Regions from separate parts of the Homo sapiens genome. Here regions 2 and 3 are each linked to region 1. Evidence: promoter capture Hi-C in human tissues and cell types (Jung and others, 2019). All regions are on one chromosome and are shown on one strand. Each heading gives the region's core, a stretch centred on a gene start or on the middle of the fragment in contact. The rest is flanking DNA. Distances are from core to core; before and after follow the strand shown.

Evidence for each region. The method cuts DNA at HindIII sites, captures the fragments that hold promoters and counts their contacts. A contact is called where the count stands out against the background at its distance.
Region 2: a contact is called between a fragment that was not itself captured here and the fragment with the promoter of TMPRSS3 in region 1, in 2 of the 25 tissues and cell types used here (lymphoblastoid cells and mesenchymal stem cells).
Region 3: a contact is called between a fragment that was not itself captured here and the fragment with the promoter of TMPRSS3 in region 1, in 2 of the 25 tissues and cell types used here (mesenchymal stem cells and spleen).

The regions. Positions count from the first base shown.
Region 1 is chr21:42,394,609-42,397,503 of GRCh38, reverse strand. TMPRSS3 (transmembrane serine protease 3) reads left to right here and starts at 1,452. Exons shown (of 13, transcript NM_001256317.3): 1 at 1,452-1,562; 2 at 2,036-2,180. The coding sequence starts at 2,087. RefSeq lists an enhancer at 2,160-2,895. The HindIII fragment of the contact is 3,128 bases long and covers 1-2,704 here.
Region 2 is chr21:42,181,267-42,184,161 of GRCh38, reverse strand. No RefSeq gene overlaps it. Among named protein-coding and RNA genes, the nearest start is that of ABCG1, 36 kb to the left of the region's middle. The HindIII fragment of the contact is 4,033 bases long and covers 1-2,895 here.
Region 3 is chr21:42,566,149-42,569,043 of GRCh38, reverse strand. It overlaps SLC37A1 (solute carrier family 37 member 1), which reads right to left. Exons shown (of 20, transcript NM_001320537.2): 16 at 1,986-2,059; 17 at 606-684. Among named protein-coding and RNA genes, the nearest start is that of LINC01671, 47 kb to the left of the region's middle. RefSeq lists an enhancer at 2,432-2,895. The HindIII fragment of the contact is 4,706 bases long and covers 1-2,895 here.

The DNA of each region.
Region 1 (2,895 bases), core at 203-2,702:
CTGAATAAATGCATGGATTTGCGAGTTGCCATCCACAATGGTAAATTCAGCCCTTCAAAGATGCTCAGCGCTCTGGTCCCCACAGCAGCGGTTAAACCCCTTTAAGCAGTGCTGTGTGCAGAAGCCTCTTGGGATGCAGAGGCCTCCGAGGAAGGAAACATGACGTGTCTTTTGTGGAGCGCAGGCTGTGATGAGCATCTTCAGGCTCCCCATCTTTTGTCTGCAGGAGTAGCTGCAGAATTGAACTTGGGGGCTCAGTTACAGGGAGGGACAGAAACCCCCACCAGAGAGTATGTCTGCCCTCTTGACGGTCACATGCTCAGCACTGGGCAGAGCCTACCCCTTCTTTCAAGTAAAAGGAGCGGCTGTGTTCCGATCACTCCCTGATGCAAAGCTTCTGAAAAGGTTTGCTCACCTTACTGACTAATTAAAGGGAAGCCACATTTTTCCCTCCCTGGTCTCTGCAGCCATACCACCAAGGGCTATTTGATAGGCCCACGGCAGCTTGGGTTACACAGATGCCCGCGATAATGCCATTTGCTGCGATGATTGAGTCGACAAGGCTGAGTGACTTGGGGAAAATATTCCCCGATTGGACTAACCTGTTGGCGGCCTGCTTACCATCACACTTGTTTTTATAATGAAAAAGGAAATTATTTCTGCTTTTAATGATGGCAGCTCCAGAAATGGTGAGTAAAATGGGTGTGAGGAGAGAAGATGCTTCTCAACACTTCTCAGTGTTGTACAGCTTGCCAACCACAGCCTGTTTGGGAGGGGATGTTCTCACCCAGGTTCCATCTTTCAGAAGCCATTTGCCCACTTATTCTTTTTATATGGATAAACGATGTAATTTGCTACATGCTGATAATAAACAGAGGTATCAGCAAGAATGAAAGCCAGAAAATGGCCCAACATGAACTTCTTGCTTTTCTAAGTTACTCTTTCAAGCTCTTCTTGCGATAGAAATGAAATGAACATTTTTGGCACAGAACTCTTGTTTAGATTTTACTATGATCTTGGGAAACACGGGTTGCTTCAAATGGCTTACTAGATCCCTTTGGAATTTCAAACGTTACAACAGGTAGTCACAAAGGGAATGAAAGCGGATGATCTGAGTGTCTGTGCTGATGTGCCTGCTGGAGCCCCTGTGGATTTTAGCCCTTGGAGGAAGCAGGTTCCCAGAGCAGCCATGCCTGATATCTGGGAGAGGGAACTAGAATTTAATTGGGAATCTTCTGCTATTTCCCTGCTTCCTCCGCCCTCTCAGAGTTACAGGGAATGACTTAGAAAGGTCTCTGGTCTCCTTGGCATTGTGATAGGTGGAATTCTTTCGTAGGAAACACAGCCCCGGGGTTATTTTGATGCAAGCCGTTGGTCCAAAGCCACTCCCCACTTTGCTATGTGGGGGAAGGACCGGGCACCGGACGGCTCGGGTACTTTCGTTCTTAATTAGGTCATGCCCGTGTGAGCCAGGAAAGGGCTGTGTTTATGGGAAGCCAGTAACACTGTGGCCTACTATCTCTTCCGTGGTGCCATCTACATTTTTGGGACTCGGGAATTATGTGAGTACCGAAACTACTTATGCTTATGGTAGGTGTACCACACGCACAGGGAAAGAATTGCGTTTATGTGGGACAGGTGAAAACAATCGCAAAAAAGCAATGGAAAGGGCTTTGAGAGTAATTTATCTTCTGAACAATAGCAATATGGCAACTTCTAAATGGTGAGAGGGAGTCCCTCTAAAGCAATCGATTTGAAGATTGGTTGGACAAACAATGGGAAAGTCATTGTCTTAGCAGAATTAAGTTCATACTTTTTTTTTTTTTTTTTTTTTGCTAATTCTAGAAGCTTTTCTGTTATCTGCTGTAGCTCAGACGAAAATGCATTCTCACCAGATGACTGTTTTTGGTTAATCGATACTGAATGCGCTTTGTGTGGACTGTCGAATTTCAAAGATTTACCGTATGACCAAGATGCACCTGATGCTACAAGTATAAATAGGGGAACAAATGCTTTCTGTTCTTCCTCGGCTAAGGAGGTAGAGGTGGAGGCGGAGCCGGATGTCAGAGGTCCTGAAATAGTCACCATGGGGGAAAATGATCCGCCTGCTGTTGAAGCCCCCTTCTCATTCCGATCGCTTTTTGGCCTTGATGATTTGAAAATAAGTCCTGTTGCACCAGGTAAGTGGACCCAGGTGAGGACTCTGTGATTTCTGCCCATACCCTCATGTAGGTGACCAATGTGACTGACTGTCCCTGTGGGGGAAATATCTCCCCAGCCATTCTGACACCCACAGGCTGGACACCTGCACTTCCCTAGATCTGCAGAATCTCAGGGAGAAGGGGCATTGGAGAGGGGATCGTTTCGTTAAGCCCTTTGCTCTCTCCCTGGAGACCGGTGTTTTCTTCTCTTGTTGGAGGTTTTCAGAGACTGGGGCTCCACAATTGTCCTGTCAATCCTGAAGGAGGTCAGATCCTGGCCAGGAAATCTCTGAGTCCTCCAGGAAGTCCTGAGAAGCAGTGGCCACCAGTCCCTCCGAAAACTCAGGATAAACTGGATGTCGCCAAAGATATTAGAGGCCTAGATTAAAATCCAGCAGCAGATGACGGAGTGGCTCCTAACAACTGAAGGAAAAAAGTTGGTTTCGTAAATAAGTCACAAATGCCTGATAAAACAGTGGACTCTCTAGCAACCTATACGGCTAGGATCTTTTTGACCAGAGATAGTCAGGACTGGTCAAAGGGAGCTGTGGGGTTGCCGGTTCTGGAAGTCAGGGCTTGGACGCAGGCAGATTCCTGACACATTGGTGCTAGGGAGGAACCACAGGAGCTCTGCCTGAGGTTCCAGAAAGTGGGAGTGGGGGTCACCCTAATGATTTCTTTTAAACCAACTGGA
Region 2 (2,895 bases), core at 253-2,752, 210 kb after region 1:
CACACACCACACATACACACCACACACCACTCACACCATACACACACAACACACACATACCCAAACACACATTCACTACACGCACACCACACAGATGTGTGCACACACGCCACACACATCACACATACAAACGACACACACCACACCACACACCTCACACACATCACACAAACCACACACCACACACACAAACCACATACACCACACACCTCACACACATACCGTGCCACACCACATCATATACCACACACAACACATACAACACAAAACACCTACCTCACACACACACACCATAAACACACACCACACCACACACCTCACACACACACCACCACACATGCCACACAACACACACACTACACACACCACACCACACATCTCAGACACACACCACATCACACTACACCACACACCTCACACACACAACCACACACCTCATACACATACCACACACATATCACATATACATATACCACATACCACACACACACACACAACACCATACATCACACACACCATACCACACACACACACATGCACACAGTGTACCACACACCATACATCACACACACCACACACCACATCCACACACCGGACCACACACCATACAGACACTACATACACACTACATGCACACCACACATCACACACCACACATCTCCCATACATACACCACACCACACACCAGACATATACCACACAAACACACCACACACACACCCCACCACATACACACACTACACACACCGCACAGACACACTTACACCACACACACACATATATTTTTCCCTCTTCTAATAAACCATTGGCTTTGAATAGCTTATCTACTAAGCAGTCTCAGAATAGTTTGTATGTTTTTACACTTGTCTGCCTAATTTGTTTAATGTCATGAAGTCCCCTGCCAGAGTGATGTGTGCCCTGAGAGTCGGGCCGGCAGGCCTGGATTCCAGCCCTCATCCCTCAGCTGACCAGTCCCTGATGCTGTGCAGTCACACCACCTCTCCAGACCTCTTCACGAATAGGCAGGGTGGTGTGGGGACATGGTGCTGCCTCAAACATAAAACCTAGAAGAACAAATCCATACCCAAAGCCAGGTTTGGGATGCCCATGGCTGAGGATGGCTGGCTGGGCTCTGGGGCTGGAGGCAGGTGCTGGAGGGTCAGGAGTGAGGTGGGGATGGAGACAGCTCCCTGCTTAAAGCAGGGCAGGGGTCAGGCCAGCCCTGCTGGTGAAAGTGACTGAGAAAAAGCTGCTGCTGCCGCTGGCTGGGCTGGGCTGGGCTAGGGCTCCTTGGCCAAGGACACTGTGGGCAAGGGAGGGGATGGGTTTCACAGATGGCAGTGCTGAGACTCTGCTAGACAAGCCCCAGCCCCTAGGGAGAAGGAGGCTGGCCCAGGTGAGCCTTGGGATGGGAGGGAGCTGGCAGAGAGGGGGCCCAGAGCTGCTCCTTGGTTGGGGGACAAAAAAACAGAAACTCAAGTTCTCATGCAACATGAGCTTGCAAACCACAATTCTAAAACACATGGAGACGTCTAACAATCCACTGGCTTTGAATACCTTACTAAGCCTTCATAATAGTTTGTTTAAGTTTTTACAGTTGTCTGCCTAATTTGTGAGGCTTTCAAAGCTCCCCCCACTTTTTTTTGAGATGGAGTCTCATTCTATCACCCAGCTTGGAGTGCAGTGGAGTGATCTCAGCTCACTGCAACCTCCACTTCCTGGGTTCAAGCAATTCTCCTGCCTCAGCCTCCTGAGTAGCTGGGACTACATGTGCGTGTCACCACGCCCAGCTAATTTTTTGTATTTTTAGTAGAGACAGGATTTCACCATGTTGGCCAGGCTGGTCTCGAACTCCTGGCCTCAAGTGATCTGCCCACCTCAGCCTCCCAAAGTGCTGGGATTACAGGCGTGAGCCACTGCACCTGGCCTTTCAAAGCCTTTTTTAATGCCATGGAGTCACATAACTGAGTGAAGAGCTATCTGAAAACCAGGGCCAGCAGACCTGGATTCCAGCCCAAATGACCGATCCCCAAAACTAGCATTGGAAACATTAGAAGCATGCATTCACATCAAATAGAATTAATTTTATAGGACATTCTGGCGGAAATACTGAAGAAATTATTCAAATGTAAAAGAAGCAGAAGAAATTATTAAACAAAGAAAAAAGATATAAAAAGAGAATCACATTAAAAATTTTGAAAATGAAGGGTAGAATAATTGAAGTTTAAAACAAACCTTATACCTGGCAAAAAAAAGTAAAAAGAAGGAATTAATATAGGTAAAAGTAGAAGTCCCTGAGTTAGAAATCAGACATAGGTAGAATGGATGAATGGTCTGGTTCTTTGAAAAACATCTCCAAGAGAGAAAATTCAAAAGCCAACTTAGTTCTTTAAAAACAGGTTTAAAATACAAAAGTTGGTTTTCTGCTGATTCTTGAAGCTGCATCATTGTAGTTTGTTACACGAAGCTCTCTATTTTATGTTTAGACATTTCCATATAAAAAACTAAAAAGAGAGAAGAGAAATAGCAAGAAAACATTAACCAAAGAATACATGTAAATATCAGAAAAATAAATGTAAGGCAAAACCATGAGCAATAAATAGAGTGTCAGTACTCAATGACAAAGCTTCAGTTCACCAGGACAGTAAAACAAACATGTCTGTAGACAGGAGAGGGCCTTTCCCCAGCTCTCATCCTCACTGTCTCATGGCTTTTCCTAGGAATGTCAATTCCCAAGTACTTCTGGCCTGCCCTGCCTTCCGTATTTCCAGAAATGCCTTCTAACACAGAGATGCAGTCACTGCTAGTTGCGAGTTATACAGAACATCCCAAAATGACAGAGCCCCAGAGACATAGGTGACACCAGCCGCATCTGTGACATGAGAGAACACAGGC
Region 3 (2,895 bases), core at 291-2,790, 170 kb before region 1:
TGTGGCAACTCCTGATTTTCGCCTGGCAGGTGCAGCCACTGTGCGTGCTCCCCATACAAGGGCTCAGGGAAGGCCACAGCCGTGCCGTCAGGCTGCACATGGGCGAGGAGACTGGCACTCTGCCAGCTCCACCTGCCTGCTCCCTAAGGGGATGGCTTGCTTATTCTGCCACCTTTTTAAATTCCAGAATATGCCACTGAATTCTCTTCAAGAGCTTCGACGATGCTGGTAACACTCAGAACCCTGTATGATTTTGGACCAATTGGTTTTTCTGTAATTTAAATAAGATTCTGCCTTTCTTGAGATGAAGGCGATAAATAATGAGTGGACCTGAGTTAGCCCACGGGCTGTAGTTTGCCAACCACTGCCTCGGGTGAAAACCTGGACACGCACAGCTAGTCACACGCCCGTCTCTCTGAAGCCACCCAGGCATGCGTGACCATCTCTGTGTGCCGATGTCCCCTGCTCATCTGCTCGTATAGTAAGAAGCCGGCCCACCCAATGTTATAGATGCAGTTGGAACCCTGGGTACCTGTTCACGAGCATGTGACAATGTGATTTCCCCTAAGACACCAAACCTCCCAGAGCTAAAACTCTCTGCGCACCTACAGAGCCCGTCCCGTCAATGATGGCCGTCACGGTGGAGAGGGCGTGCGCGTTGCCTTTCAGACTTTTATGAGTCCCCTAGAAGAGAGGAAAAACAGACGTGCAGTTATCGCCACAGCATGAGAAGTAAACCTAAGCCTCTGTATGACCATTTACTCAAACTGCTCTGCAAAACAACTCATCGTGAGGGTGTTTCCCATTATTTAAACTCCACCCCAAGCTTGCCTTGGAGAGTTAAAACTTCAAGGGTTTTTAAGAGTCAAAAGTCATCAGAAATGCTTGGTTCTAGTTACAAGAACTCTTAGGATTCTCTTCAAATAAAAAACGTTTGTTCCGCACAGTCCTGCTCCTCCCTGAGGCCCCAGAGCAGCCAGCGTGAGAGGCGTGAAGGTGCGCAACGCGCGCCCCTGCCCTGAGCTGCGCCGGCCTTCCTTCCCAGACACATCCACGTGTCTGCTGGATTCCTCGACAGCCAGGGCCTTCCTGGGACCCCTGTCAGATGTCTCTGCAGGACCTAAAATTCAACCTGATCAATAGCAAACGCCAGGGGAAGAAGGGAGGAGGGGAGAGCTGAGAAACCAAGGCTGGCGCAGGTCCTCGGTGAGCAGCCGCCAGGAGCTCTGGTTTTGAAAATGTTGCATAGACAATGGGAAAAAAGCCAAAATGAGGACAATAGGAGGGGAAAAAGATCAGGGGAAACAGTGCCTAGAAGCCTAAAACTATAAAAATGAACCAGCGTTCAAAAAAATAAATGCTTGTATATGCACGTAATATGTATATAAAATAAAGAACACACAATATGAAAATCATCCAGAACCTACGTATTTTGAAGTCTAAAAAATAAGTGAAAGTCTCTCCTCTGCCTCTACCCCGTGAAGGCTGACCATTGCTAATGGTCTGATGTGGATCCTTCCAGAATTTTCCATGCCCATGTAGACACAAGTCTGCATGCTCACGCACACTCAGGCAGTTTCAGGACACGTCCAATACAAAGGTGACCAAGGCAGGGCATGGTACCTGGATGAGAAGGGCCGAATCCCCCAGCGCCTCTTCGTGGCCCCTCTCTCTCTGCAGAGGCGTCCAGGACAGGACCTCTCCCCTGCCCCCTTGGATTGAAAAGGCGCCTGAGTCATGAGGATGGCGCCCAAGAGCCTTTTGTTGTGCTGAACGGTGAGTTTTGCACCAACCTGCCCATGATTTTAGGAGAAGGGTGAGCAGCGGGGCAGGTGCGGGAAGGCTGGAGACCACAGGTGTAGGTGAGCTGCCAAAAACGTGCTTCTGCAAATGCAGTTTTACTAACAGTAATGGAGGCCACTTTTGTCATGAATGGCACATGGCAGGGTGCCCACAGGGCTGGTGTCTCTCCCGGTTCTACTCACCAGGTCGGCGGAGACGGCGGTGGTGATGAGTGTGTAGGGCCCACTGACCAGGGCTCCGCTGAGCAGCAGCATGGCTGTGGGAGGCAGAGGGGCAAAGAATGGAAATGTGCCCTCCAGAGAGCCCCGCATGCATAGGAGCAGCCTGAGGTGGGCGCCTGGGGAGCACAGGGAGGGGATGCAGCAGAAACAGCTTCCTCTAAACTTGTCTAGTGAGGAGCTAAAGCAAATCATACCCTCCCTAAGACTCAGGCTCATCCACCCTCGAAGGGCAGCAGCTGCCACCATGAGGGAGCGATCACAGGCCGGACCCTGGGCCTGGGCTGACCCCTGCTTCATCTGCAGCAGAAAGGCCTTCCTCTCCTCACCCACAGCTGCTGTGGTGCTCGCTGAGGGCAGACCCCCACCCTCTCTCCGGACCAGGTCATTTCCTAAACTCTCCTCTAGGCTCACACTCAGGTGAGGAAGCTTCTGGCCTGAGGGGGGGTCACAGGAAATTCCGCTTCCTCTCCTGTGGGCAAGCTGCCTTCTGGATAACATTTAAGGGGACCACACATCCCCACTGCTGGCTCATTAGGACAGAAAGCATACTTCTAAGTGCTGGAGGCATAGTTTGATAGCGCTGCCTGCAGGGTGTTCAAAATAGTCCTCCAAGGTTACGCAACCGCTCCTGGAGGGGCAGCTGACAAAGCTGGGAGGAGGTGGCTGGGGGGCCACCTGCCCTGGCTCCTGGCCGGACCCTGTTCAGGTCACACCGCCAGGTTCCTGGCTACCTGACGTGGCCCAAGAGCCAGCCTGAGCTGCTCTCACCACCAGGGGTGCAGGGTGCAGGTGGCAGGTCGCAGGCTGCTGCAGCCCCGCCAGCCCCACCAAGGCCCCAGGAGGGGCTGCCCTCAAGGTCACATCTGGCTTC